Linked DNA regions of Homo sapiens: all the other regions are linked to region 1. Evidence: promoter capture Hi-C in 16 types of primary human blood cells and fetal thymus (Javierre and others, 2016). All regions are on one chromosome and are shown on one strand. Each heading gives the region's core, a stretch centred on a gene start or on the middle of the fragment in contact. The rest is flanking DNA. Distances are from core to core; before and after follow the strand shown.

Region 1 (6,430 bases), core at 3,215-5,714:
GTACCATACAATTAATGGGTAGAAATTACGTGCTTTAAGTCTCCTGCTGCAACCTGAAGGCAACAAATAAGATATTTTGAAGTTGACCATTTTGCTTCATGTAACATTAACAAACTAAGGGCCTAGTGAAGGATGGAAACTATATAATTAATAATAAAAGGGCAAAAGAAATGTTACCTAGAGAACAGCTTAATGAGAAACGTCAGAGATTAAGATACTTTGTAGTTTAAACGTAAAACATTAAGTAACTACAAAGAGGTGGACTTATTTTACAATACAAATACAATGAAAACTTTAGAGTTTCATTTAAAGTTTACTCACCCACAAAACTGAGAGATTAAAGGAGAAAAAGGTTATCCAAGACAAAATCTAGAATGCAGTAAATGTTTTGTTGTTGTTTTGAGACAGAGTCTCGCTCTGTCACCAGGCTAGAGTGCAGTGGCACGATCTAGGCTCACTGCCATCTCCGCCTCCCTGGTTCAAGTGATTCTCCTGCCTCAGCCTCCCGAGTAGCTGGGCCTACAGGACCACGCCACCACGCCCAGCTAATTTTTGTATTTTTTTAAGTAGAGACGGGGTTTCACCATGTTGGCTAGGATGCCCGCCTTGGCCTCCCAAAGTGCTGGGATTACAGGCGTGAGCCACTGCACCCAGCCAGAATGCAATAAATGTTAAATAAACTTTAGGTAAAAGAAAACTTCAGGCCTGGTGTGGTGGCTCACGCTTGTAATCCTGGCACTTTGGGAGGCCGAGGCAGGCAGATCAGCCTGAGGTCAGGAGTTTGAGACAAGCCTGGCCAACATGGTGAAACCCTGTCTCTGCTAAAAATACAAAAAATTAGCCAGGCGTGGTGGCACACGCCTTAACCCCAGCTACTTGGGAAGCTAAAGCAGGAGAATCACTTGAACCCAGGAGGTGGAGGTTGCAGTAAGCCGAGATCGCGCCACTGCGCTCCAGCCTGGGAGACACAGGGAGACTTGTCTCAAAAGAAAAAAAAAAAAGAAAACTTCATACAACAATCCCATTACATAGAAATACAACTGTCAGCCGGGCGCAGTGGCTGACGCCTGTAATCCCAGCGATTTGGGTGGCCGAGACAGGCCGATCATGAGGTCAGGAGTTAAAGACCAGCCTGGCCAATATGGTGAAACCCTGTCTCTACTAAAAATACAAAAATTAGCCGGGCATGGTGGTGCGCGCCTGTAGTCCCAGCTACTCGGAAGGCTGAGGCAGAAGAATCACTTGAACTGGGAGGCAGAGCTTTCAGTGAGCAAAGATCGCACCACTGCATTCCTGCCTGGGTGACACAGCGAGACTCCATCTCAAAAAAAAAAAAAGAAAACAAAAAACAAAGAAATACAACTGTCAGGCTGGGTGTGGTGGCCCACACCTGTAATCCCAGCACTTCGGGAGGCCAAGGTGGGTGGATCACTTGAGCCGAGGAGTTCAAGACCAGCTGGGGCAAGATGGCAAGACCCCGTCTCTTAAGAAAGAAAGAAAGACAACTCTCATTTGGGTGCTAGGTACCAAAGAAAGACCACATCTTGAAAATTAGATACCCTAAAAGGTTTCAATTTTCACGAGGTCAGGAGTTAAAGACCAGCCTGGCCAATATGGTGAAACCCCGTCTCTACTAAAAATACAGAAATTACATTCCCTAAAAGGTTTCAGCTAAACAGAAGCAAAAGTGTACAACGTCAGTGAATTAAGTGAAAAGGAAAGTGAGCAAAATCACAGGAAGATGAAAAGATCACCAACTTGGTGAGACAAAAGAATAAAAGATCATAGATCATGTAAGAGGGGATATAAAAAGTTAAAGTGAGATAAGAAACATGATAGTCTGTCAATGAATCAAATGCTAAAGGTAAAATAGTAAATATTATACCACAATGGTCACAGTAATGTAAGGACAGGTCATGCGAAGACCTGCAGATCAAGGACTGGCTCAAATCCAACTCCAGAAGTAGAGAGATTCTAGAGGTGAAAGTGGAGACTCGAGAGAAATGTTTGTCTTCTGTTTTCCTCCCAAGTATTAGGCTCAATGTAAGCTCAGAAGATAGCTTAACTCTTCCAGAGCTGTAGACAAACAGTTCACTAAAGCATTTAGCATTCATCTGAATGTTACAGTCCTTTCACATATGAGAATATCAAATCTTATTTCTTCAGTAAGCAAACACAGTTTTGACACCCACAACTTAATCTTAAGTGGTAATTTTGCTTAGAAAAGTGGCTCATGCCTGTAATCCCAGCACTTCGGGAGGCCGAGGCGGGAGGATCACGAGGTCAGAAGTTCAAGACCAGCCTAGCCAATATGGTGAAACCCCGTCTCTACTAAAAATAAAAAAAAAAATTAGCCAAGCATGGTGGCGGGCGCCTGTAATCCCAGCTACTCGGAAGGCTCAGGCAGGAGAATTACTTGAACCTGGGAGGCGGAGGTTGCAGTGAGCCGAGATCCTGCCACTGCACTCCAGCCTGGGTGACAGAGCAAGACTCCGTCTCAAAAAAAAAGAAAAGAAAAGAAAAGAAAAGAAAAGAAAAGAAAAGAAAAGAAAAGAAAAGAAAACTGACAAAACCAAAAGAGCAGATGCACAGGACAGATCAAACATGGAGAATACAAAAACTGTTCAAGTACTCATACACTGTTCCATTATATCCCTTATCCCAATCCATTACTCCTTTGCTATCCTCTGGCTGTGTCGCCCAGGCCGGAATGCAGGGGCACGATCTTGGCTCACTGCAATCTCCACCTCCAGGGTTCAAGCGATTTTCATGCCTTGGCCTCCCATGTAGCTGGGACTACAGGCACGCGTCACCATGCCCGGCTAATTTTTTTTTGTATTTTTTGTACTTTTAGAGACGGGGTTTCACCATGTTGGTCAGGCTGGTCTCGAACTCCTGACTTCAAGTGATCCGTCCGCCTCCACCTCCCAAAGTGCTGAGATTACAAGCGTGAGCCACTATTTCAGTTTTAAACTTTCTCCTAAGCCTGTCTCTTCAAACTTGCCTACTCTCTCTTTGGCCAATATCTTTCACTTGCCTTCAGATCCACTGACACGCCTCTCTTGCAGCAGAAGGTCTTCTTACATGGAAAATGTTTTTCTTATCATAACTCTTTTTTTAAGGGTTGGGATAATTCCAAAGTACTTGAAATAAGTTTCTCATATCTTGCTCTATGAGGTTGACTAGAATTTGTTCTGAAACCTATTGGATGACCAATACAAAAGAAATTCCTAAGCAGAAGACACGATCTAATTAACTAACACAGGACACGATTCAAATCACAAACTCACTTTCGATATGTAATGTGCCCCACACCAGATGACTTCAGCATATGCTAACCTAGGCTGAGAATCCTTGACTGAGTCGACAAACTCAGAAAAGCATGGAGATGAAACGATCTGTAGACGCCGCTGTGATGGTAGGATGCAGCAGACACTGATAAGGCAGCTCCCCTGGCTTGTGTTTGGGGCGCTCCGCTGTTTATTCTTTAATAGAAAAAGACAGAGTTCTAAATCTTTGACTTCTGGCTCACTTTGCTTAGCCATACGAAAGAGATGGGTCCACTATATACCTTTTCTGTGAAGACCCTAACCGCTTCAAGACTGTCCCTTAAAAAGCAAGAGGCTGCTGCATTTATACAGCTGCTGCAGGGAAATTCCCTGCGACACTAGAGACAGGTAAATAAACTGCATTCGTTCCAAAGCAGGGGGAAGGGTCTTCTATCAGTGACGAGTTTACATAATGCAACGGAAAACCAGTGAGCTCTGCAGACCTGTCAAGGAGGATGCAAGGCTTGAGCTCCTCTCTTCCCACCATCTCTAAACATTCTCCAACAGCCTGCTCTTCACTGCCAGGAGACCCACAGAACTTACACCTGAGAATGAGTAACAATCTGCTTACGCTTACCCCATGCTTTCCTACCCACCTTTATTATTAAAATACAGAAGAAAAAAAAATAAAAAGAAGTAGAAAACCCTAACCACCTATTTCTGAATCCAAAGTATGGAGTAACCAAACGGGGCCGAGGAGTTTTCCCTTCTCTGAAGAGAGGAGAACAAGGCGCCGCCTCCAATCTACACTACGCCCAGTAATGCAATGACAAGCCCTGAAAACTCCACAGCGTCCCAAGCAGTCCCTCGCGGCTCGGCCCGGCTCGGACCCCGCGGCCCGGCAGCCACCCTCTCCCCCGGCCTCTCACAAAGGAGACTGGTTCAGTCCGGAGCATCACCCCGCACCTGATCCCTCACAACTGGGGGGCGAGCAGGGGGTGGAAGAGAGAGGAGAAGGAGTTACTTAAATCAAATCTCTGAGAGCCTCAGCTTTTGCTGACTCCTGGCCCAGCACTGAGGAGCGGGTGCGAGCGGGAAGCCTACCTGTGCAAGTCCTGGTACTTCCTTTCCAGGCAGCGTTTCAACTCACCCTCTCCGAGAACAAGGCGCCTTCCGGCGGAGCATGGCCAGCCCTCGCCTCAATCTAGCTTGCTAGTAGTCCATTCTCCCTAGGCTCCGCCCCCCTGCGCTCCCATCCGCCAATGGCAGCACCGAAGCCCGGCCTCTTCCAGCGAGCTAGTGTGAGCGCCATCCAGGAAGTCTCTTGAGGGTGGAAGGTCCTAGGAGGATGAGAAGGGTACGTAGGCGACCACAAATATGCCTGATTGAAAATAAAATCTGGCGGCGGCTCGCCTCTGACGACTCAGTTCACAGGCGGCCAGGCCCCTCGGCATCTTTTTTTGACCCCCGCCATTGGGGGCGCTGTGAACTAAAACAACACTTAGTTACCTACTTCTGGGAAGCCATCTTGGCTCGGACTCCGGGACTGGGTGAGAGTGCTTAAAGAATGTGAAGACCCTGTCGGTGTTCTGTCCGACTATCTAGGTCCAGCCCGAACATACTCTGCTGTATACACTTAGGAGGCCCCTCAGTCACGACGTGAAACCCTGGAGTAATGCCGTATGTGGTTACGGGCAACAACCACCACCACCCTCTCACTTAACTGTAGGAGTAAAGCAATTTTAACAAATCAAATAAGCAAAAATTAATTCTTCTAATGAGAGTGAAAGTTGCACTTTCCTAGGGTAATCCTTTATGGACACCTCACTCAAAATATCAGGACATGTATCTATTATAGGTGCTACTAAGCTTTAGGATTCACTGCAAATTTTCCAGTAGGGGCACTGTGAATCAGTTGGAAATCAAGAACAGGACTTAAGGAGGAATTCCTTTTTTTTTTTAAAGGCCTAATTTTTTTTTTTTTTTTTGAGATGGAGTCTCGCTCGGTCACCCAGGCTGGAGTGCAGTGGGGCGATCTCGGCTCACTGCAACCTCTGCCTCCCGGGTTCAAGCAATTCTCCTGTCTCAGCTTCCTGAGTAGCTGAGACTACAGGCTCCCGCCACCACGCCCAGCTAATTTTTGTATTTTTAGTAGAGACGGGGTTTCGCCATGTTGGTCAGGCTGGTTTCGAACTCCAGACCTCAAGTGATCCGCCCACCTCGGCCTCCCAAAGTGCTGGGATTACAGACATGAGCCACCATTCCTGGCCAAGAAATCTTTTTTAAAGTTGTGAGTGAGGGAATCCTTCCAGATTATTAAAGGAATTTCTCAAGGAGTAACATAATTGCATGGTCTTACATGATAGGAGCTCAGAGACATCAAGAAGTCATATGAGTGATAAGACTCGGCCTTAAGCTGGGCGCAGTGGCTCACGCCTGTAATCCCAGCACTTTGGGAGGCTGAGGCGGGTGGATCGCCTGAGGTCAGGAGTTCGAGAGCAGCCTGGCCAACATAGTGAAACCCCGTCTCTAGTAAAGATACAAAAAAAAATTAGCCGGGCGTGGTGGCAGACACCCATAATCCCAGCTACTCGGGAGGCTGAGGCAGGAGAATCGCTTGAACCCAGGAGGCGGAGGTTGTGGTGAGCCAAGATCTCACCACTGCACTCCAGCCTGGGCAACAAGAGCGAAATTCCATCTCAAAAAAAAAAAAAAAAAAAAAAAAAAAAAAAAAAAGACTTGGCCAAATACATTTCCCTGTGTATCAAAATCTGTCAGCCAAGACAGGCGCGGTAGCTCACGCCTGTAATCCCAGCACTTTGGGAGGCCGAGGCGGGTGGATCACCTAAGGTCCGGAGTTCAAGACCAGCCTGACCAACATGGAGAAACCCCGTCTCTACTAAAAATACAAAAGTAGCTGGGTGTGGTGGTGCATGCCTGTAACCCCAGCTACTCAGGAGGCTGAGGCAGGAAAATCACTTGAACTCGGGAGGCGGAGGTTGTGGTGAGCCTAGATCATGCCATTGCACTCCAGCCTGGGCAACAAGCGGGAAACTCTGTCTCAAAAAAAAAAAAAAAAAAAATCTGTCAACCAAATTCTCTCCTGGCTACTGCTGCCATTATATCAATTTGATGTTAGTATTAAGATTTATCAGAACAAT
Region 2 (6,008 bases), core at 270-2,769, 1.1 Mb after region 1:
TATTATCTGTTATCTAACAGATCTGGAAATCCTAATCCCCCTTATTGGCCCCATTACTAATATGCCCTTTTACTAGGTTTTTCTTCAATGACAAGCCACCTAGTTCCCACTGGAGAGGAGAAAGGCAGTCCAGTCTGCCAATTCAATTTCAGCCACAACGGGCTCAAAAACAGGTCTTGGCATAAGTGAAAGTCATTTGCTCAAAAAAACCTTCTGGCTTTATTACACTGATAATCTATAACTCTAGTCCATGCCCACTCTTCAGCAAACCACATTCTTCAAAGCATCCATGAAAAATCATTCTAGACCCTAGAGGCTTATGAAGGCAGGGTGACTTCTACATGGAGAAGGCATCTTTTTTAAAATCAGCTTTCAGACCCTGCCTTGCTCCTACTCTTCCAGACCTGGAAACAAAAACATCAAACAAAATTAAATCAAAAGTTCTCATCAAGGTTCCTTCTCCGGGCTGGCTAATAAAAACATATAGTACCGTGGCAGAGGGCGGTGGGTGGGTGGTGGAGAATACTTAGAGCAAAGGGGTAGTGTATCTGGTCGGATGATGGTTAACACATCCTGAAGGCAAGGACGCCACCACAGACAACTAGGTCTTGGTCATCTAGGACAAAAGTCAAAGATGGTAACTAAATATCCAATCAAAAGGCTAATCTGCAACTTCAGTACACAAGTCATTAGATCCTCAGACCTGTTTTAAATTCTAAGAAATATCTCTGGTGTGTCAGAACAATGTAAATGTACAATAAGCATTCTATAGGTCTGTAACTTTAAGCACAGCACCACTGTCACCAGACTTTTTTTTTTTTTTTTTGAGGCTGAGCCTCACTCTCACCCAAGCTGAAGTGCAATGGCACGATCTCGGCTCACTACAACCTCCACCTCCCGGGTTCAAGCGATTCTGCCTCAGCCTCCCGAGTAGCTGGGATTACAGGTGTGTGCCACCATGCCTGGCTAATTTATGTATTTTCAGTAGAGATGGGGTTTCACCATGTTGGCCAGGCTGGTCTTGAACTCCTGACCTCAAGTGATCTGCCTACCTCGGCCTCCCAAAGTACTGGGATTACAGGCATGAGCCACTGTGCCAGGCCTCCAGACAATTCCAATGCTGTATTTTGTCTGTACCCCAACTAGACCATAAACTCTTTACGGATAAAGAACATGTGCCAAAGCTTTTACCATAATGCCTCATATTGGACTGAAAATACAACTGATGACCTGACTGATGATCACACTGAAAAGAAACCATGAATGCTGGCATGTTTTCAAAGTCAAAGTAGCAGGTGATACCAGTGATAGAGGCCACGCCTGTTTTCAGTATTCACTGAATCCCCGTTGGGCAAGAAAAGTCAGATTTTAACAAAAATTGATGGAGACTGTTCTCGCTAAATATAGCAGTCTACAAGGTTACCAAATCCTGGAATCAAAAGGAAAAATAAGGCTAAAATAGAGTTATGTGAACAAAAATTGGGTTCAGGACAGTGAAATAACAGCTTCCTCAACAAGAAAAAAAGTAGTAGCAGCTAAAAGGCAAAATCAAGTAAAGGATGATTCAACAAGAAAAGCACCAGTATTTATATTCTTTGCACTTTCATTGAAACGTTTCACCGGAGATTGGTAATGATTAGGCCAAGATGACAGAGATGATTCAAGGTTGGGTTTTTCATTTGAAAAGTCTACTAATTTTAGAGTTGTGTTAAACCTAAGTTAAAGTTGGAATAGGGTTTTCCCCGGACCAATATTAAGTGAAGTGGATCACCAAGTGGAGTAGCGGCACGAAGGTGGTTTCTTTAGACTTTTAAGTCCAACTCCTACGGAGCCGTTTGGTATTAGGCATATAATCTAAGCTTTCTGAGCCTCAATTTCCCCATTCACAACAAAAGGGCAATGCAGGCTCTTCTCATAACTTCAAGGGGCGGTGGTCTGATATAGAGTACTATGAAAACAAAAGCAGCACACCAAAGTAACACATTATTATTATGATCACTTATAGAACCATTACCCGCTAGGATGAAACTCCCCACACAAGAGATGAAGCCCGAGAGAAAAGAGTTGAAGGGGAAGGTCCCCACGAGGAGACAGTAACCGAACTGCAGCGCCCCGGTCAGCAGTATATACAGCAGGTACGCGTCCAGCAACTTCAGACGCTGCGGAGTGGAGCTCAAGTACTCTTCTAAGAACCGCGAAATGACAGACACTACCGACGCCGACATAACTGCACGCAAGGTACTCCGGTCCGCGCCCCAAACTCTTGGAGGACCCGTCGACCACACCGGATGTGCTGTTTGCGCATGCGCACCCTCGTGACCTAACTCCGCCCTCCCCGGTGTGCCAATTTGCGCAGGCGCTGAGGCCGGCCAGGGCGCGTAACAACTAATGCGCAGACGCGGACTGCATCAACAGACTCAACTACAACTCAGAAAAGTTAATGCGTCTGCGCAATGGCCCTATCAATGAGCTGGGGACGTGTACTCTTTCTGTTCTGTTTCCGCCCGTCAGCTCGGTGACGCCCACAGTTGCTCTGGCAACAAGACACACTGGGAGGAAGAGGGGAATAAGCTTTACTGGGGACCGCGTAGCTAACCAGAGGTATCCGGCTCTCTCTGGTCCTTCTGAGTCCTGGAAGATTTAACGGTTTGCATCTACTTTGAGGCAATGCCTGGCGTTCCTGGGGTTTGATACCAGCCTGACCCTAATTCTGTTAAGGGCGCTGTCTGCAGATGTCTGTCACAGATCATTGGAACAAGTCAAGTTCATCCGCAGTGAGACCCGGCGCGGCCAATCACTGCACAGGCCCCAGTTTAGACTTAATTACTTGGGGGAGTGAGTGGGTGTGGTGAGGGGCGGGAGGCAGGGAGGAAGCCTGACCTCAGCAGGGTTCTGAACTGGAACTCGGGATCTGGCCCTGCAATGCCAACATTTATTGGGCGCCTCCTTGGGGCCTGACGTTGTACTAACTTGTAGGGACTCTCACGTGAATCAGATATATTTGCAGCCTTAAAAGAGCTGGTGAAGGGAGGGACAGCTGTCGAATGTCGTGCAAAAAGCATATGGTCAAGTTTAGCAGCTCTCTTTCCGCAAGCTGGTATCTTGAACCTGGTGTAATATCCCGGGATGTCAGCGTCGAAAGGCCCGAAAGAGCATGCCTGGTTCAACCCTACTCTCTCCAACTCATTTTGCAGAAGAAACTGAAATGGTTTCAGGTTTTGTATTTTAACAAGTGGGATTATTTTGAGGGTTTTAACTGTTTTTTTTTTTTTTTTTGAGACGGAGCCTTGCTCTGTCGGCCAGGCTGGAGTGCAGTGTCGCGATCTCGGCCCACTGCAACCTCCGCCTCCCTAGTAGCTGGGACTACAGGCACGCGCCACCACGCCCGGCTAATTTTTGTATTTTCAGTAGAGACGGAGTTTCACCATTGTTAGCCAGGCTGGTCCCGAACTCCTGACCTTGTGATCCGCCAGCCTCGGCCTCCCAAAGTGCTGGGATTACAGGCATGAGCCACTGCACCCGGCCTGTTTTAACTTTTTTTAAGAAATTAAGTTCTGGCTTTCGTTGCCCTTTTAATTTCACGTGAATCCGACCTTCTAGACCCAGTTCATCTCACCTTTTAGCTGTAAGTTTTTCCACACATGACCAGGTACTTTATTTTCAGCTTCTTAATATTTTGAACTGTACGTGAGCAAAATTCCTAAAACAGCAGGTGAACAACAGCGTTCCTGCCTTTTCACTTTTTTTTTTTTTTTTTTTTGAGATGAAGTTTTGCTCTTGTCACCCAGGCTGGAGTGCAGTGAATGGTGCGATCTCGGCTCACTGCAACCTCCACCTCCTGGGTTCAAGCCATTCTCCTGCCTCAGCCTCCCGAGTAGCTGGGATTAGAGGCACCTGCCACCACGCCCGGCTAATTTTTGTATTTTTAGTAGAAACGGGGTTTCGCCATGTTGGCCAAGCTGATCTTGAACTCCTGACCTCAGGTGATCTGCCTGCTTCAGCCTCCCAAAGTGCTGGGATTATAGGAGTGAGCCACTGCGCCGGCCCCTTTTCACTTTTTATTTGCCTTTAGACTGGAAACTCTACACGCATTAACTAACGGATGTATTATCAGTGGTGATCAAAGCCTTACTTAAGTTCTAGAAAGAAGAGAAATAACCTAAGAAACCTTTAGAGTCTATTTGAATAGATAGATTTATATTCATACCCGTGGAGATTTGTGCAGCTATATGAACATAAGTTCAGCCTAAACCTATGTTGCTGAGAAAGAAAAAAAAAGAGTGGATAACAAGCTGGTTCTTATTTCAATATAATATGGCAGGAAGCATCAATTTCTCTGACAAGTTGAACCTTTCTCTCTGCCTCATCAACAAGTAGGAGGGTAGCTTCCTCACGAATATTCAACTTCAAACTTTACAGGCTAGGCTGATGCTTTTTAATCATTCAGGTGTGGATTCTTCAGGGAGTTTCTGTTCCATCAGCCAGGCTCCTTCCAGTGTTTTCTCCCTTATGTTTTGTCTGCCTTTGATCCATGTCAACTATCATCATTAAGATCTCCCCAGGAACTCTCACAGGAGAGAAGAAGAGATGAAAAACACCAAATGGACTTATTGAATGCATTTGTTTCTGAGACCTGCTAGTCACACCAATATACTACACTAGGGCTTTTCTGAACTACTTAAAACAGCAAGAAAAGGCCTACTTCTCTATTCGGTTTATGATTCTATAATCATTGAAACATTTTTAACTGATCTGTCAATAGGAAATTGCTAACACTAGTGTTGATTTCAATTAGTTTAAATCAGAATATTAATATAGTTTAAAATTCTTGTCCAGAGTAGTGGATAAGAGTGCAAGCTCTAGAATCAGACAGTCCTAGGTTTGAACCTTGATTCTGCTGTTTACTAGTTGTCTAATCTGGAACAAGTTACTCAGTCTGACAGTCTCATTTTCCTTTTCTATAAAACAGAAATAACAATACCTGGCTCATTGAAATTATGTGAGGATTAAATGAGATAATGTTAAGCATTAAGCTGTTAGCATAGTGTTTGGCAGACAGTAAATGTTCAGTAAATGTTTGCTCTTATTAACTATCATTAATCCTAGTAATTAACCATGTCTGCTTCTCCTAGTTCTCTGAATGATTAAAAGTTAGCCAAACTACAGCGCCCCCAATAATTTGGGTATGCAAAAGATAGCACTGGAGGGACTGCAACTCAAATGGCTCTTAAAGGGCAGATCTAATTTATAAGCTGAAACTGAAGTCAGAGTATACTTTAGGGGTTTCATTACATAAAACAATGGAAGAGTGGAGGAGCAAGAGGGTTCCCTTAAGGGCAAAGTCCATGATTTTACATCATACATCCTCTACAAAAAGAAATCACATTATTTACCAAAAGAAACACAAATCCTCCAAAGTTTGAGTAGACAATAACTCTTCTAAAGGAAATCTCCGCATGGAAAAGAATGTCTTTTCCATTTCCTTTCCCTTGCATTGTCACGTTTGCCTTAAGATTCCCCTCTTTGCTTCTGTTAACTGCTATTGCATATATAATCTCTACCTTCTAAACTTTGGCCCCAGTGTGACCAAAACCCCCTCTCCTTGTTTCCTAATAGAACAGATAAAATAGGTTATTATTTTCAGAAATAAAAATTTAAGGAGAATCAAGTTGCAAACAGCACAAAGTCAAATTTTTAAAGTATCAAGTTTCTGATCAAGTCCTAGTAAAGCAGTAAATATCTTCAGTGAACCCATATCCCTTCATCCTTTCAGTTTCTGATGAAGTGGAACAACTTTTCAGCTCCTTTGTCTGGTTTCCCTCCCTCCTAGCTGTTTGGGAGTCTCAAAAAAGCCTCAGTTTTGCCCCCTTGCTGGCACCCGAAAGTGAGTCCACTATATTGTCCTTTCCAAGAGCAGATCACTCACCACAACATGGGGCTGAAATCATCAGTGCCTGAGCAACAGTGTGCAATAGAATTTTCTGTGATAATGTCTCTGCACTGCCCAG
Region 3 (5,858 bases), core at 111-2,610, 1.6 Mb after region 1:
AGTCCTGAAAACAACTGACTAGGTCTAAAAAAGAGAAAAAGATCTTCAATCTTGGGATGCGTTGCCAACACAACATGACAGTAGATGTCACACTTAGGTTTGCAAAAAATATAAGCATTTGGGGTTCATTTCAGTATTGGTCTAATTTAAATAAATGTGAAACGAGCCTTAAAAATGTACTTTCCAGTACTTTTGGTATTTTTCATAAATATTTAGATAAAAAAGAAAGACAATTCATCTCCTTTAGACAGACAGTTCAGGGTAAGACTGTCCATAATTTTAACTATCCCTTTCCTCCCAAGTCACATTTTTGTTAGGACTAAATATATCATACTCTTGGCAGTTCCCTTGCTTGCTTTCTCCCCATTCTGAGTTTGAATTTTCTGCATGACTGAGTTCACCTCCAAACTATGAAAAATAAAAGTTTTCTCACTATTTAATAGATGTGTATGATATGGTATCACTCAGATGATATATGTTTTTATAATGGGTGCTTGACTCATTCAGGGTCATGCTAGCAATAGACTTCCTTAAATGTGATTACTGAAAGCATGGCAATTCATATCATAATCTTCATTTTAAGAAATAAATAAGGAAAACGGCCACTTAAAGCTCCTGCTGTGTTGGTCAGTCCTACTCCTCCACTTCAAGGTGCAAAATGGCTCACCTGTCAAAAGGTTCTCTCAAAACCTATTTTTATCAGAAATGAGCTCCTTATCACACAAGAGCAGCTAAGTAAATACCACAAAATACTATTTTCCCACATTTTAAAAGAGTGACTCGACTAATGGTCTGCAAAAAATCCAAGACCTTATTTTTAGGGGTAAAAAAGAGAGCTGTAGACCCAGAAGGCCGAATGCGGTCTTTAAAGGATTCCACGTAATCTGAAAATTCCACGTATATTTCTATAGCAGGATGAGAATTTTTAGCCCAGTATAGCACAGTCCTTTTTATTTACATTTGCTAAGATTACATTGGTAAGATTAATATTTCCGATTTCAGGTTTGCCTAAAGGACCCACTGCATTTATGGAGAAACTGAAAAATGAAAAAGTAGCTCCTAGAACTCGTGCCAGCGAGAACTTGGTAAATGTTAGTTGATTAAATATTAGTCAAGGATGACAAGGTGGACCCCAGGGAGGGCAGAACCGTTTCCGATGGGTCAGTGTGATTCAGCTACGGGAAAGGCGATCGCAGCGACGCGGGAAGCAGAGATCGGCGACTGCTCAAGAGGCCTCAGGGGACAGGGTGACTCGCCACTGTGCCCTACCATACAGTGCGCTCTGGGAGTCCCGGGTAAAGGGGGTCATTCCCGCGAGGGATGCGGAGAGCAGAGCGGCCGGAGGAGCGGCTAGGGATCTCGCCGGGTCACCGGGGAGGGTAGACTACGTAGCCCCGAGAGCTTTGAGAACTTGGGCTGAAGGCGGCGCTCGCCGTGAGAACTGACGCGGAGGTGCAGCTTTGCAGCCCTACAGATGTTCTACCGCGTGTGCCTGGCGCTACCGCACGGGCTGACTCAGCTAGGCAGAGGCGGAGGCGGGCGCGCGGGAGACAGAACTATCCGCGGCGCCTGCCCGTGTACCCGGCTACCGCGCGCACGCGGGGAGACACCGCCCCGTTTGCCTTCTGGCTCCCGGTGATTGGCGGTTAGACGATGGCTGGGGAGCAGGGTCACGGACACTATTGGCTGCAAACAACAGTCACTCAAAAAGTCAGGTAGGGGAGGGGCCTCCTCAGGGAGGGACAAGACTGTGAGGCTTTTTCAAGGCCGTCAGACGCCATCTTTAGCTTGTTTTTGTTTACTTGCTTTTGTTCTCTGCTGCTCACAAACCTGTGTGTACACGATTATAAGCACAGTGGCCACAAATCGGCGTCACACGTTGGGTGGTGGCCGACTTTTAGTTACTGCTGGCCTCGGTTACATTTCTTTCACATGTCACCTGCAAATTAGCAGCTCCTCACAGTTCAAAGAAGTTTCCAATACTAGGGGCCCCGAGGATTCCCAGGCAAAATCAACAGAGTTTAGTTTTGCTTTGCTTTGGAAGGCCAAGCCAACGATATATATGTGCGAGGAATTCTCTCCTTTCTTAGGAAGAAAAAGCAAGAACAGTGGATATGACCCTACGTTCCTGGATGTAGAAATCAAATAGCCTAGGAAATCAGGGATACGGGCTCTGCACTGTTCAGGGAGAGCTCTCCCTATTTTTTGAGACGCTAAAAAGTAAGGTAAAAAGTATATGTGATGACCTGTAGTGATGTGGAAAAGAGCTAAAAAGGGTAAAACTCCATTAAAAATTCCCGTAACTGGCCGGGCGCGGTGGCTCACGCCTGTAATCCCAGCACTTTGAGAGGCAGAGGCGGGCGGATCACCTAAAGTCAGGAGTTGGAGACCAGCCTGACCAACATGGTGAAACCCCGTCTCTACTAAAAATACAAAAATCAGCCCGGCATGGTGGCACATGCCTGTAATCCCAGCTACTCGGGAGGCCGAGACAGGAGAATCGCTTGAACCCAGGAGGCGAAGGTTGCAGTGAGCCAAGATCGCACCATTGCCACTGCAGCCTGGGCAACAAGAGCGAAACTCCGTTTCAAAAAAAAAAAAAAAAAAAAAAAAAACTCCCATCACTGTTGTGATCACAAAGATCACTAAAATGTGACTAGATTTCAAAGAAATGCAGGTCTGAAATTGTGGAATAATCCACAGTCGAGCCAGTATTTATTAAGCACTGGTCTGACTTGAATTGTTAGAGAATAAAAATACACTCAGCACAAGTAAGAAACCCAGAAAGCCCAAACAGGGCCACTTTTGTTATAAATTTGTACAAGTAACTTTATTGCAGTCAGTATTTAGGAGTCAAATACTGCTTGAAATAGAGTAGGATGCTAGCTGTGTAATAGAAATGCATTATTATACAGAAGTTTTGTTGTAATGAAATTTAAATTCTACAGTAGATTTTTTTTTTTGTCTCCTGGTTGTCACTGCATTTGTGACATTCCAGTTTCTCCCTCAGCACCTCATATACCTCCTATGCTTTCACTCCAATCTGCGAATACAAATTTGGATACAGATATTTTCCATACAACTTCTAATGAGGAGATAGTGATTCTGTAACAGAATGAAGTGAAAATAGGGCTCCTATAACAGGAGGTTCTGCTCTGCGAGCCTGTTTTTCTCTAATTCATATACTTTTTTCTGTGACTCTTAGAAATGAGAAGCTTTCCATTCTAAAAATGCAACATGATAACCAAAAGGCATTTCTTATCCCTTCTATTATTTGCCTTTGCATCCTCTTGGCTCCCCATCACCATCACCATGAACAGTTTTTGAGAATTACACTTGACTGGATTTTTTTCCTGATACTTTGCCAGCTGTGGAGCTTTTCGAATATTCCAACCAATAAACGACCATTTTGTCAAAAAGCCAAGAAAGAACTTCCCTTCTGAACACACCAACCAAACCACACATAAAGGCCAAAATATACACAGCTGTACACTTAAGAACGTGAGACAATAAAAAGCAAAACCACTTAGGCAAAACAGTCACTGAAGGCTTTGAACCACAGATTCAATAAATTGCCTACTCTCATTTGCCACATGGACTATATACTCCTTGGCAATTATTTAATTATTCATTATTCTGATCCTTTAGGAGCAGAAAAATATAGTAAATGCACATAGAAAGTGCCTAAGTATGCTAAGCATAGGATTTCTTCTAAGCTCTGCTTTGCACACAAAATATTTTGATCACATTTGGGAAGACAACGGAAAAAAATTCACATCCTAGGGGATACTTTGCACACATAAAACCAGATATATTTATCACTTTTGAAAATAAAATCTGATATGGCACATATACACACATATTGTACATATACACAAATAACCCCAAGTTATAACTTTACAAATTTGTTTCAAGAAACACACACACACACACACAAATGTTCTAATGAAAATGTGTGTGAAAGACACACTGTAATTAAGGTCTTTCCCCCTTCCCTAGGGAAATGAATGTCTCCATTATAATATCCCAATATTAACTTATTGGCCTTGGACAAGTGCCACATCCCAGCCACTTGGTTTTGGTTCTGGGGGGGTGGGTGTGTAAAAAGCACGCAAACGGCTTTATGAGGGAGCCTCAAATCTCTCTGCTTCCTTCGATGTTGCCTGTGGCAGAAATTTACATTATCCCTTCAGCCCGCTTAAAAAATTCTGTACTTCCCAAGCGGCTAAATTTTTAAAGTCCCTCAACCACAAAAATCTACCAGTTCTTAAAATGTGATTTAAAAAAAAGAAAAAAAAACTATAAATTTGGCCGGAAACGGTTGTACACGGCCATCCTGCTTCTCAACTTCTTGGTATATTTAAAACCTTGACCAGGAAAAAGAAAGAGGAAGAGAGACAGAAAAAGAAATGGGGGAAAGAGCAAATTCCCCTTAGCAACAGTTTCCTCACCCCAACACTGCTACAGATCTCTATTTTTAAAAAATTTGAAAACACACACAAGATTAAGGAGGAAAAAAAATGGAAAAAGGATACCCGAAGGTCGTATGGCTCTTTGTATTCGTGTGTGTGCAAAAAGGAGGACTCGCGGAGCCCGAGCCGGCAAGCCCCGCCCCTCCCCGGACGCCCTCCCGGATTGGCCGTCCGCGGCCGCGGGGCGCCCCGCCCGCAAGCACACGCGCCGCGCCCGAGGCGCCAACCCCGGAGTTGGGGGCGGGGGGGGCCCTGAGGGCCGCCGGACCCCCGACCCCCAACCTCGCCTGGACCTTGGCAGACCCCTTTCCCACCTCTCTCCCTTTCACTTTCTCACCGTCCTGTCACCCTTTCCCATCTTTTTTTCTCAGTGAAACAAGGCCCAGTCACCAGCATAACAATCCAGTGAGCGACCTCCGGACACTTTGTTAAATTGAGTGAACTAGTCAGTAACATTCTAGACTGCAATTAAACATCAGGGACTTGGTGCGTGGGCCCTACTCCGGTTTCCAGGTGAAATGTCTCTGGGTCACGTGTGTTGCTTAACACCCCCACGTTTAAATGAACATTCACGTATGGAACATCTTTCTGAAGTCTTACACTTCAGCCCGAGCTCCCAGTTTATCTACCTGGCTCAGACCACATTCTCAAAACTAAAGTGGCTCCTCTTTATTTCCAGGAAGACAGCTGGTATACCTGGATTTTAAGCCACCCATAATCTGGTCCCACCCACCTATTTGTTATTTATTTATTTATTTAGACAGAGTCTCGCTCTGTCACCCAGGCTGGAGTGCAGTGGTATGATCTTCGCTCACTGTAAACTCCGCCCCTCCGCCCCCACCCCCACCCCCACCCCCACCCCGCCCAAGCGATTCTCCTGCCTCAGCCTCCCAAGAAGCTGGGACTACAGGCGTGCGCCACTGCACCCAGCTAATTTTTTTTGTTTTTGGTAGAGACAGGGTTTCGCCATGTTGGCCAGGCTGGTCCTGAACTCCTGACTTGAGGTGATGTGCCCACCCTGCCTTTTTTTTTTTTTTTTCAGTGATGTGATCTCGGCTCACTGCAACCCCCACCTCCGAGGCTCAAGCGATTCTCCTGCCTCAGCCTCCCGAGTAGCTGGGATTACGGATATATGCCACCACGCCCGGCTATTTTTTTTTTTTAAGTAGTGACGGGGTTTCACCATGTTGGCCAGGCTGGTTTTGAGCTCTTGACCTCAAGTTATCCTCCCGCCTTGGCCTCCCAAAGTGCTGGGATTACAGGCGTGAGCCACCGCGCCTGGGCACATATTTGTTCTTAGTTCCCTCTACGCTCGTCTTATCAATCTTGTATTATTCCTTTACTCAAGTGGCTTTTTTTTTTTTTTTTGGCCTGAATTATGCGTCT
Region 4 (6,575 bases), core at 1,311-3,810, 1.1 Mb before region 1:
TGGCTTTAGAATGTGAGCAAGCAGGAGATAGAGGTAGGAAGGGGCAGCATGCTTAACAAAAAAGAATGCCTCCATATCCAGGGCTCGGCCATACAACACCAGCTGCTATGCCTTATCATGGACTTCTCTCTCTTCACTCTGAGTGATTTACTTACAGATACCTCTTTTTAGATACTGGCCATATTCTCTCTCAGTATCTCCAAGTCAGGTCAGGTTAGGTATGGGACGGATGTGGCAGTGGTTTTGCGTATCCCTTGTCCCCTCCCATTATTGCCCTGCTCTCAGCTCATTGTCAAATTTCTGCAGCTGACAAACAAAAGCTGTGAGTAGAACTGTCAAGGAGTAAGTCATTTAACAGTTGAGCATAACAGGTTTAGACCTTTGGAGCATCCAAATTGTTTTCATTTGGGAAATAATTATTGGGAGTGGATTGGGAGCTGGAAAACACATATAGCTTAGAAAATATCTAAATAGGGAGCTGAGGCAGGAAAAAACTGGAGGAGCCATTCAATGTAGGATATTTGAGGTTGGATAGAGGGTTTTAGGAAGCTTCTAGGCTCCCACTTTAATTCCTAAGAATCCAAAGTTTAATGTATAAGCCCTATTTCTTCTTTATATCTTTAATCTTACAGGAATCTAATTTTCTTGCCTGATGCTATCCTTTTCCTTATGGAAATAACTGGCACCTGTGACGAAGGATGAGTCATTGGTTTATGTGATTTCCATTTGCAAAACTCCTTTTTTTTGTTTTTGTTTTCACTCAACATAGACCAATCTCCAGTTCAACAACAACAAGTACTATCTGATTCAGCTATTAGAAGATGATGCCCAGAGGAACTTCAGTGTTTGGATGAGATGGGGCCGAGGTAATGATTTTTATTGAGATTTTATGAGTTGGCATTCAGAAAGTCAGAAGCAGCTTAGTGGGTGGCCAAAGGATTCTCTGGGTTTAAATTGGGTCAGTAGAGGCTCTGAAGTCTGGGAGAGCCTTAGGAATCAAGTTGAGCATCTTGAAATTGGGGAATGGCAGGCATCCTCCTTAGAGTTCCCACTGGAAAAACTAAGAGCAGCCCATTGAGTCTGAAAACTCTTCTATAGTTGAACTGCTAGTAGTGCTCATAGACTATGGCAGTTAGCAAGTAACTTGTATCAACATGATTAGTTCCCTAAATCCTTTCACCTTTCCCTTCTCCCTTTCCTGCCTGTTTGTCAGATGTTAAGCAGAGAGATCTTGGAGAGCTGGCCTGTTACTCTTAGGGAACTATCTTATGTGTGGCATTTCCTTTGCAGTTGGGAAAATGGGACAGCACAGCCTGGTGGCTTGTTCAGGCAATCTCAACAAGGCCAAGGAAATCTTTCAGAAGAAGTGAGTGCTGAAAAGTGACTACAAAAAAATATACCCTCCTCTTCTTAGATGTATATTCTCTAAAAAATTTTTTTTTAGACAGTTTCACTCTTGTTGCCCAGGCTGGAGTGCAATGGCATGATCTGAGCTCACTGCAACCTCCACCTCCTGGGTTTAAGTGATTCTCCTGCCTCAGCCTCCCTAGTAGCTGGGATTACAGGCGCCCACCACCACGCCCAGCTAATTTTTGTATTTTTAATAGAGATGGGGTTTCGCCATGTTGGCCAGGCTGGTCTCGAACCCCTGACCTCAGGTGATCCGCCTGCCTCAGCCTCCCAAAGTGCGGGATTACAGGCGTGAGCCACCGTGCCCTGCCTTCTCTAAGAATTTTATAAGTGTGTGGCTTATAAAAAACTTTTCGTTTTATAGGTGTGATTTGGCCTAAATGTTAATGTCTTTTCACCCTGACATTCTGTGGTTGAAACACCAAACTGCATCCTTAGTGATTAAATCAAACTAATACCTTGAAAGTCACTAAAAACAGAAGAATCTAATATATTTAACACATGACTGACAAATTTAGGAAATTTGGGATAAGTGGAGACTATCCTGGGATAGATAATATTCAACTAGGGGCTGAGCACGGTGATGCCTGTAATCCCAGCACTTTGGGAGGTTGAGGCAGGAGGATTGCTTGAAGCTAGGAGTTTGAGACCAGCCTGGGCAACAAAGCGAGACCCCTGACTCTCCCCCAAAAAAAAGGAAAGAAAAAAAGAGAATATTCAGTTAGAATTTTTAAAACTTTATGATATAGATGAAGAACTTTCTGGAGAATTGGAGAACATGTTTCTTTCAGGGAAAGAGATTAGATGGATATCTTTTGTTTGAAATCTCAATGGCTTTTGTGGTGTTTGGGAAGGACAAGCATTGTTTTTCCCATTTTTTAAATTCCATTTGTCTCCAGAGCTTTTTTGTCCATTTAGTGTCCTCATTTAGAATTAGACTAATTTTGATTTATGGAAAGTTGATGTGTAAAGGAGCTCAGTGCTGGAAAATAAATTCTTTGGAGATTTTCTGTCTTGTAAGTCCATCTTCATAGTAGACCTTTATTTGTAAAGTTTTCTTACACCTTGGACTCTACAGATTCCTTGACAAAACGAAAAACAATTGGGAAGATCGAGAAAAGTTTGAGAAGGTGCCTGGAAAATATGATATGCTACAGATGGACTATGCCACCAATACTCAGGTAACTCTCACTATACTTTTCGAAAGAAACACATCTTCTTTTTTTATTTTATTTTTTAGAGGCAAAACTGTGCTCTGTTGCCCAGGCTGGGTGGCACAATCATGGCTCACTGCAGCCTCAAGATCCTCAGGCTCAAGTGATCCTCCCACCTCAGCCTCCTCAGTATCAGGAACTACAGGCACGTGCCACTCTGCCCAGCTGATTTTTTTTCTTTTTTTTTTGTAAAGATGAGGTTTCACTATGTTGCCCAGGCTGGTCTCGAATTCCTGGGCTCAAGCAGTCCTCTTGTCTTGGCCTCCCAAAGTCCTGAGATTACAAGCATGAGGCACCACACCTACTCCTGTTTCTTCTTACTCAGGGTAAAGCAGAATAGCTTAGATCATTCCTGGACTGGGACAGGCCAGGATATCTTGAATCCTTTCTACTTCTCACCTCAGGGGTGCTCTCACTGATCTTTGTAATCCCAAAGGGACAGTAAGAATGAGGATAGAATGTGCCTTTCTAGTCTTGGCTCTGTTATTTACTAAGGTTCTTTTTTTTTTTTTTGAGCTGGAGTTTGATTCTTGTTGCCCAGGTTGGAGTGCAATGGCTCAGTCTCAGCTCGCTGCAACCTCCAGCTCCCGGGTTCAAGCGATTCTTCTGCCTCAGCCTCTCAGGTAGCTGGGATTACAGGTGCCCGCCACTATGCCCAGCTAATTTTTTTTGTATTTTTAGTAGAGACAGGGTTTCATCATGTTGGCCAGTCTGGTCTTGAACTCGTGACCTTGGGTGATCTACCCGCCTCAGCTTCCCAAAGTGCTGGGATTACAGGCGTGAGCCATCACGCCCGGCCTACTAAGTTTCTTATAAAATCTTAGGCCCTATTTCCAGACGTTTATTGTTTTTTTCGTTTTTTTGTTTTTGTTTTTTTTTGATACGGAGTCTCGCTCTGTCGCCCAGGCTGGAGTGCAGTGGCGCGATCTCGGCTCACTGCACGCTCCGCCTCTGGGTTCACGCCATTCTCCTGCCTCAGCCTCCGGAGTAGCTGGGACTACAGGCGCCCGCCACCACGCCCGGCTAATTTTTTTTTGTATTTTTAGTAGAGACGGGGTTTCACCATGTTAGCCAGGATGGTCTCGATCTCCTGACATCATGATCCGCCCGTCTTGGCCTCCCAAAGTGCTGGGATTACAAGCGTGAGCCACTGCGGCTGGCACCAGAAGTTTATTGTTATGGACCAAGAGAGGAGTGATAAAAAATCAAACTGATTAAACAATTAACATTTAAATTTGTTTTCACTTCTGGATATATACCACCATAAAAAATTTAATTTAGATAAACTGAGGTATACCAGGATGCTGAAACTGTCCGGAAACAGTCACATATCCAAAAAAATGGAGAAGTTTTAGTCTTTTTTAAGATGGGAAGATCTGAGACATAATAGCTGTCTTTACACACTGACGTCATGAGGAAAGCCTTTTTTTTCTAGACTTATTCTGAGTTGTAAAATGTGGGAGGCAGAACTTGGATGGTCAACCCTCTATATCCATGGATTCAATGAACTGAGAATCAAAAATGTTTGAAAAATTGCTTCTGTACTGAACCTGTACAGCCTTTTTTTCCTTGCTTCTCATTATTCCCTAGACAGTGCAATATAAAAACTTTACAAAGCATTTACATTGTATAATATTGGGTGTTATAAGGAATCTAGAGATGATTTCTTAGATTGTCTTGTGTTTTGTTTGTTTTTTGCTATAGGATGAAGAGGAAACAAAGAAAGAGGAATCTCTTAAATCTCCCTTGAAGCCAGAGTCACAGCTAGATCTTCGGGTACAGGAGTTAATAAAGTTGATCTGTAATGTTCAGGCCATGGAAGAAATGATGATGGAAATGAAGTATAATACCAAGAAAGCCCCACTTGGTAGGACTTCACATTTTCTTCTGCATTCTCTCCTTATAATTCCTAGCTCCTTTAATGGATACTTTATTATCATTATGATTTAAAGCTTGCTCATAGTACTGAATGAAGAAAATGGGATTTGGGGTGACAGGTTGTATGGAGGGAAGAGGAACTATTTTGAAAGTTGAGGCTGGGTGTGATGGGTCATGCCTATAATCCCAACACTTTGGGAGGCCAAGGCAGGTGGATTGCTTGAGCCCAGGAGTTTGAAACCAGCCTGGGCAACATGGTGAGACCCCATCTCTACTAAAAATAGAAAAATTAGCCAGGCATGGTGGTGTGTGCCTGTGATCTAGCTACTTGCGAAGCTGAAGTGGGAGGATCACCGGAGCCCAGGAGGTTGAACTGCATTTAGCTGTGTTTGTGCCACGGCACTCAGCCTGGGCAACAGGAGTGAGACCCCATCTTAAAAACAGGAAAAAAAAAAGTTGAAAGATGAAAGTCTTTTTTAGGGAAGGATGTTAAGTACAGTTCACTAGATGGGATCCTAGTTTGGAGTCTGATCTCTGGGTGGGCCTGCAGGGAAGCTGACAGTGGCACAAATCAAGGCAGGTTACCAGTCTCTTAAGAAGATTGAGGATTGTATTCGGGCTGGCCAGCATGGACGAGCTCTCATGGAAGCATGCAATGAATTCTACACCAGGATTCCGCATGACTTTGGGTAAGGCCTGTGCTGTTACTTCACTTTGTTCTTCTACCTATACATATCCCCTGTATCCATCAGCAGCAGCTATAATCTTTTAAATCTTTTATTCCTAAGAAAATGATCGTCTTGAATAGGTACAGAAACAAAATGATATATAGGTAGCCTATTTAATCAGCTTACAAATATGGGATGCAATCTCCCGGCTTGACCACAGCCATATTCTCTGACAAAGTGGAAGTTACCAACCCAAGAGAGAATGGGTCTAGCTATCCAACCACCCAAGTAAAACACCTTCAGGCATATCACCCCCTTTTCCTATTTGAGTAACTAAAACCACACAAACACCATTTCTGTGAACTCAAGTGATATTAGATAGACAAAATAACATTTTACATTTGTTGATTCTGTTTTCTGGTTTACATCCGATTTCTATTTCTTTTATAGCTTTATAGAGCCCCGTGACCTAGAAATAACCCTGAGTGGTCAACAGGTCTACCTGTGCTTCTAGATAGAACTGTATCCAACTGTTCCCTGTTGATATCAATATAACTTATTTTTAAATGATTTTATAAAAAATAATTTTAACTCTAGTCTCAAAAGTCAAAATCCACATAGTTCATCTTATACCGAGTATATATTTAATATTATTTTATATATTTGGAAGTTAAGATCTCTTTACAGATCTCTTTCTCTCTCAAATGGAAAACCTGTTTCTCATACCTGTTTTCTAAAGGACCTATCTGTCATTTTCTATTTTTAGTCATGCGCCTTTTAGCCACATGTCAGAAAGCTCATTATGGGTTATATCTCTGTTCTTAGACTCCGTACTCCTCCACTAATCCGGACACAGAAGGAACTGTCAGAAAAAATACAATTACTAGAGGTGAGATATGTATGATTTGAGAAGTATTATATCCCTTATACCAGTGTCCTCCCACATTGATTCTATATCTCATCTTCTCAGGCTTTGGGAGACATTGAAATTGCTATTAAGCTGGTGAAAACAGAGCTACAAAGCCCAGAACACCCATTGGACCAACACTATAGAAACCTACATTGTGCCTTGCGCCCCCTTGACCATGAAAGTTATGAGTTCAAAGTAAGAAAAATGATCATTTATTTTCATATTCTTGCACCCTTAACCACCTCCCCCATCCCACTGTTCTCTAACTACTTCTTGTCAAGAGCAAATTGTCAATTAGGGCAGACTTTTTATGTACTAGGGATTTGGGAAGGCCAAGCTTTTCCTAGCTGCCTTGTAAGACTGTTTGGGAGCAGAAAGGTCTGCCAAGTTATATCAGAATCCCCAAATTCTTCAGTTCAGCTCAGTCTCTTGTAGAGTCTACATCAGCCTTTTTGTCTTATTTTTCACAGGTGATTTCCCAGTACCTACAATCTA

The links. The method cuts DNA at HindIII sites, captures the fragments that hold promoters and counts their contacts. A CHiCAGO score of 5 or more calls a contact.
Region 2: a fragment that was not itself captured here is called in contact with the fragment with the promoter of CHD8 in region 1 in 2 of 17 cell types (naive CD4 T cells and total CD4 T cells); the score reaches 5.7 in naive CD4 T cells.
Region 3: a fragment that was not itself captured here is called in contact with the fragment with the promoter of CHD8 in region 1 in 2 of 17 cell types (naive CD8 T cells and fetal thymus); the score reaches 8.1 in naive CD8 T cells.
Region 4: a fragment that was not itself captured here is called in contact with the fragment with the promoter of CHD8 in region 1 in 1 of 17 cell types (monocytes); the score reaches 8.3 in monocytes.

What each region holds. Positions count from the first base shown.
Region 1 is chr14:21,451,659-21,458,088 of GRCh38, forward strand. CHD8 (chromodomain helicase DNA binding protein 8) reads right to left here and starts at 4,465. Exons shown (of 38, transcript NM_001170629.2): 1 at 4,374-4,465. It overlaps LOC124903283 (a long non-coding RNA gene), which reads left to right and starts at 4,739. Exons shown (of 2, transcript XR_007064064.1): 1 at 4,739-4,819. RefSeq lists enhancers at 4,208-4,897, 4,762-5,313, 4,928-4,977, 4,988-5,037, 5,314-5,865 and 1 more. The HindIII fragment of the contact is 18,756 bases long and covers 1-5,136 here.
Region 2 is chr14:22,586,933-22,592,940 of GRCh38, forward strand. DAD1 (defender against cell death 1) reads right to left here and starts at 2,292. Exons shown (of 3, transcript NM_001344.4): 1 at 2,015-2,292. The coding sequence starts at 2,225. RefSeq lists enhancers at 1,289-1,930, 1,931-2,572. The HindIII fragment of the contact is 675 bases long and covers 1,183-1,857 here.
Region 3 is chr14:23,005,566-23,011,423 of GRCh38, forward strand. It overlaps C14orf93 (chromosome 14 open reading frame 93), which reads right to left and starts at 4,578. Exons shown (of 7, transcript NM_021944.4): 1 at 4,536-4,578. LOC124903286 (a long non-coding RNA gene) reads left to right here. Exons shown (of 2, transcript XR_007064075.1): 2 at 1,003-3,419. RefSeq lists enhancers at 1,076-1,445, 2,379-2,939 and silencers at 1,606-1,655, 4,567-4,916. The HindIII fragment of the contact is 3,706 bases long and covers 1-3,213 here.
Region 4 is chr14:20,349,757-20,356,331 of GRCh38, forward strand. PARP2 (poly(ADP-ribose) polymerase 2) reads left to right here. Exons shown (of 16, transcript NM_001042618.2): 5 at 770-866; 6 at 1,291-1,366; 7 at 2,489-2,591; 8 at 4,329-4,491; 9 at 5,053-5,191; 10 at 5,996-6,059; 11 at 6,141-6,275; 12 at 6,551-6,575. Among named protein-coding and RNA genes, the nearest start is that of PARP2, 9.4 kb to the left of the region's middle. The HindIII fragment of the contact is 4,027 bases long and covers 548-4,574 here.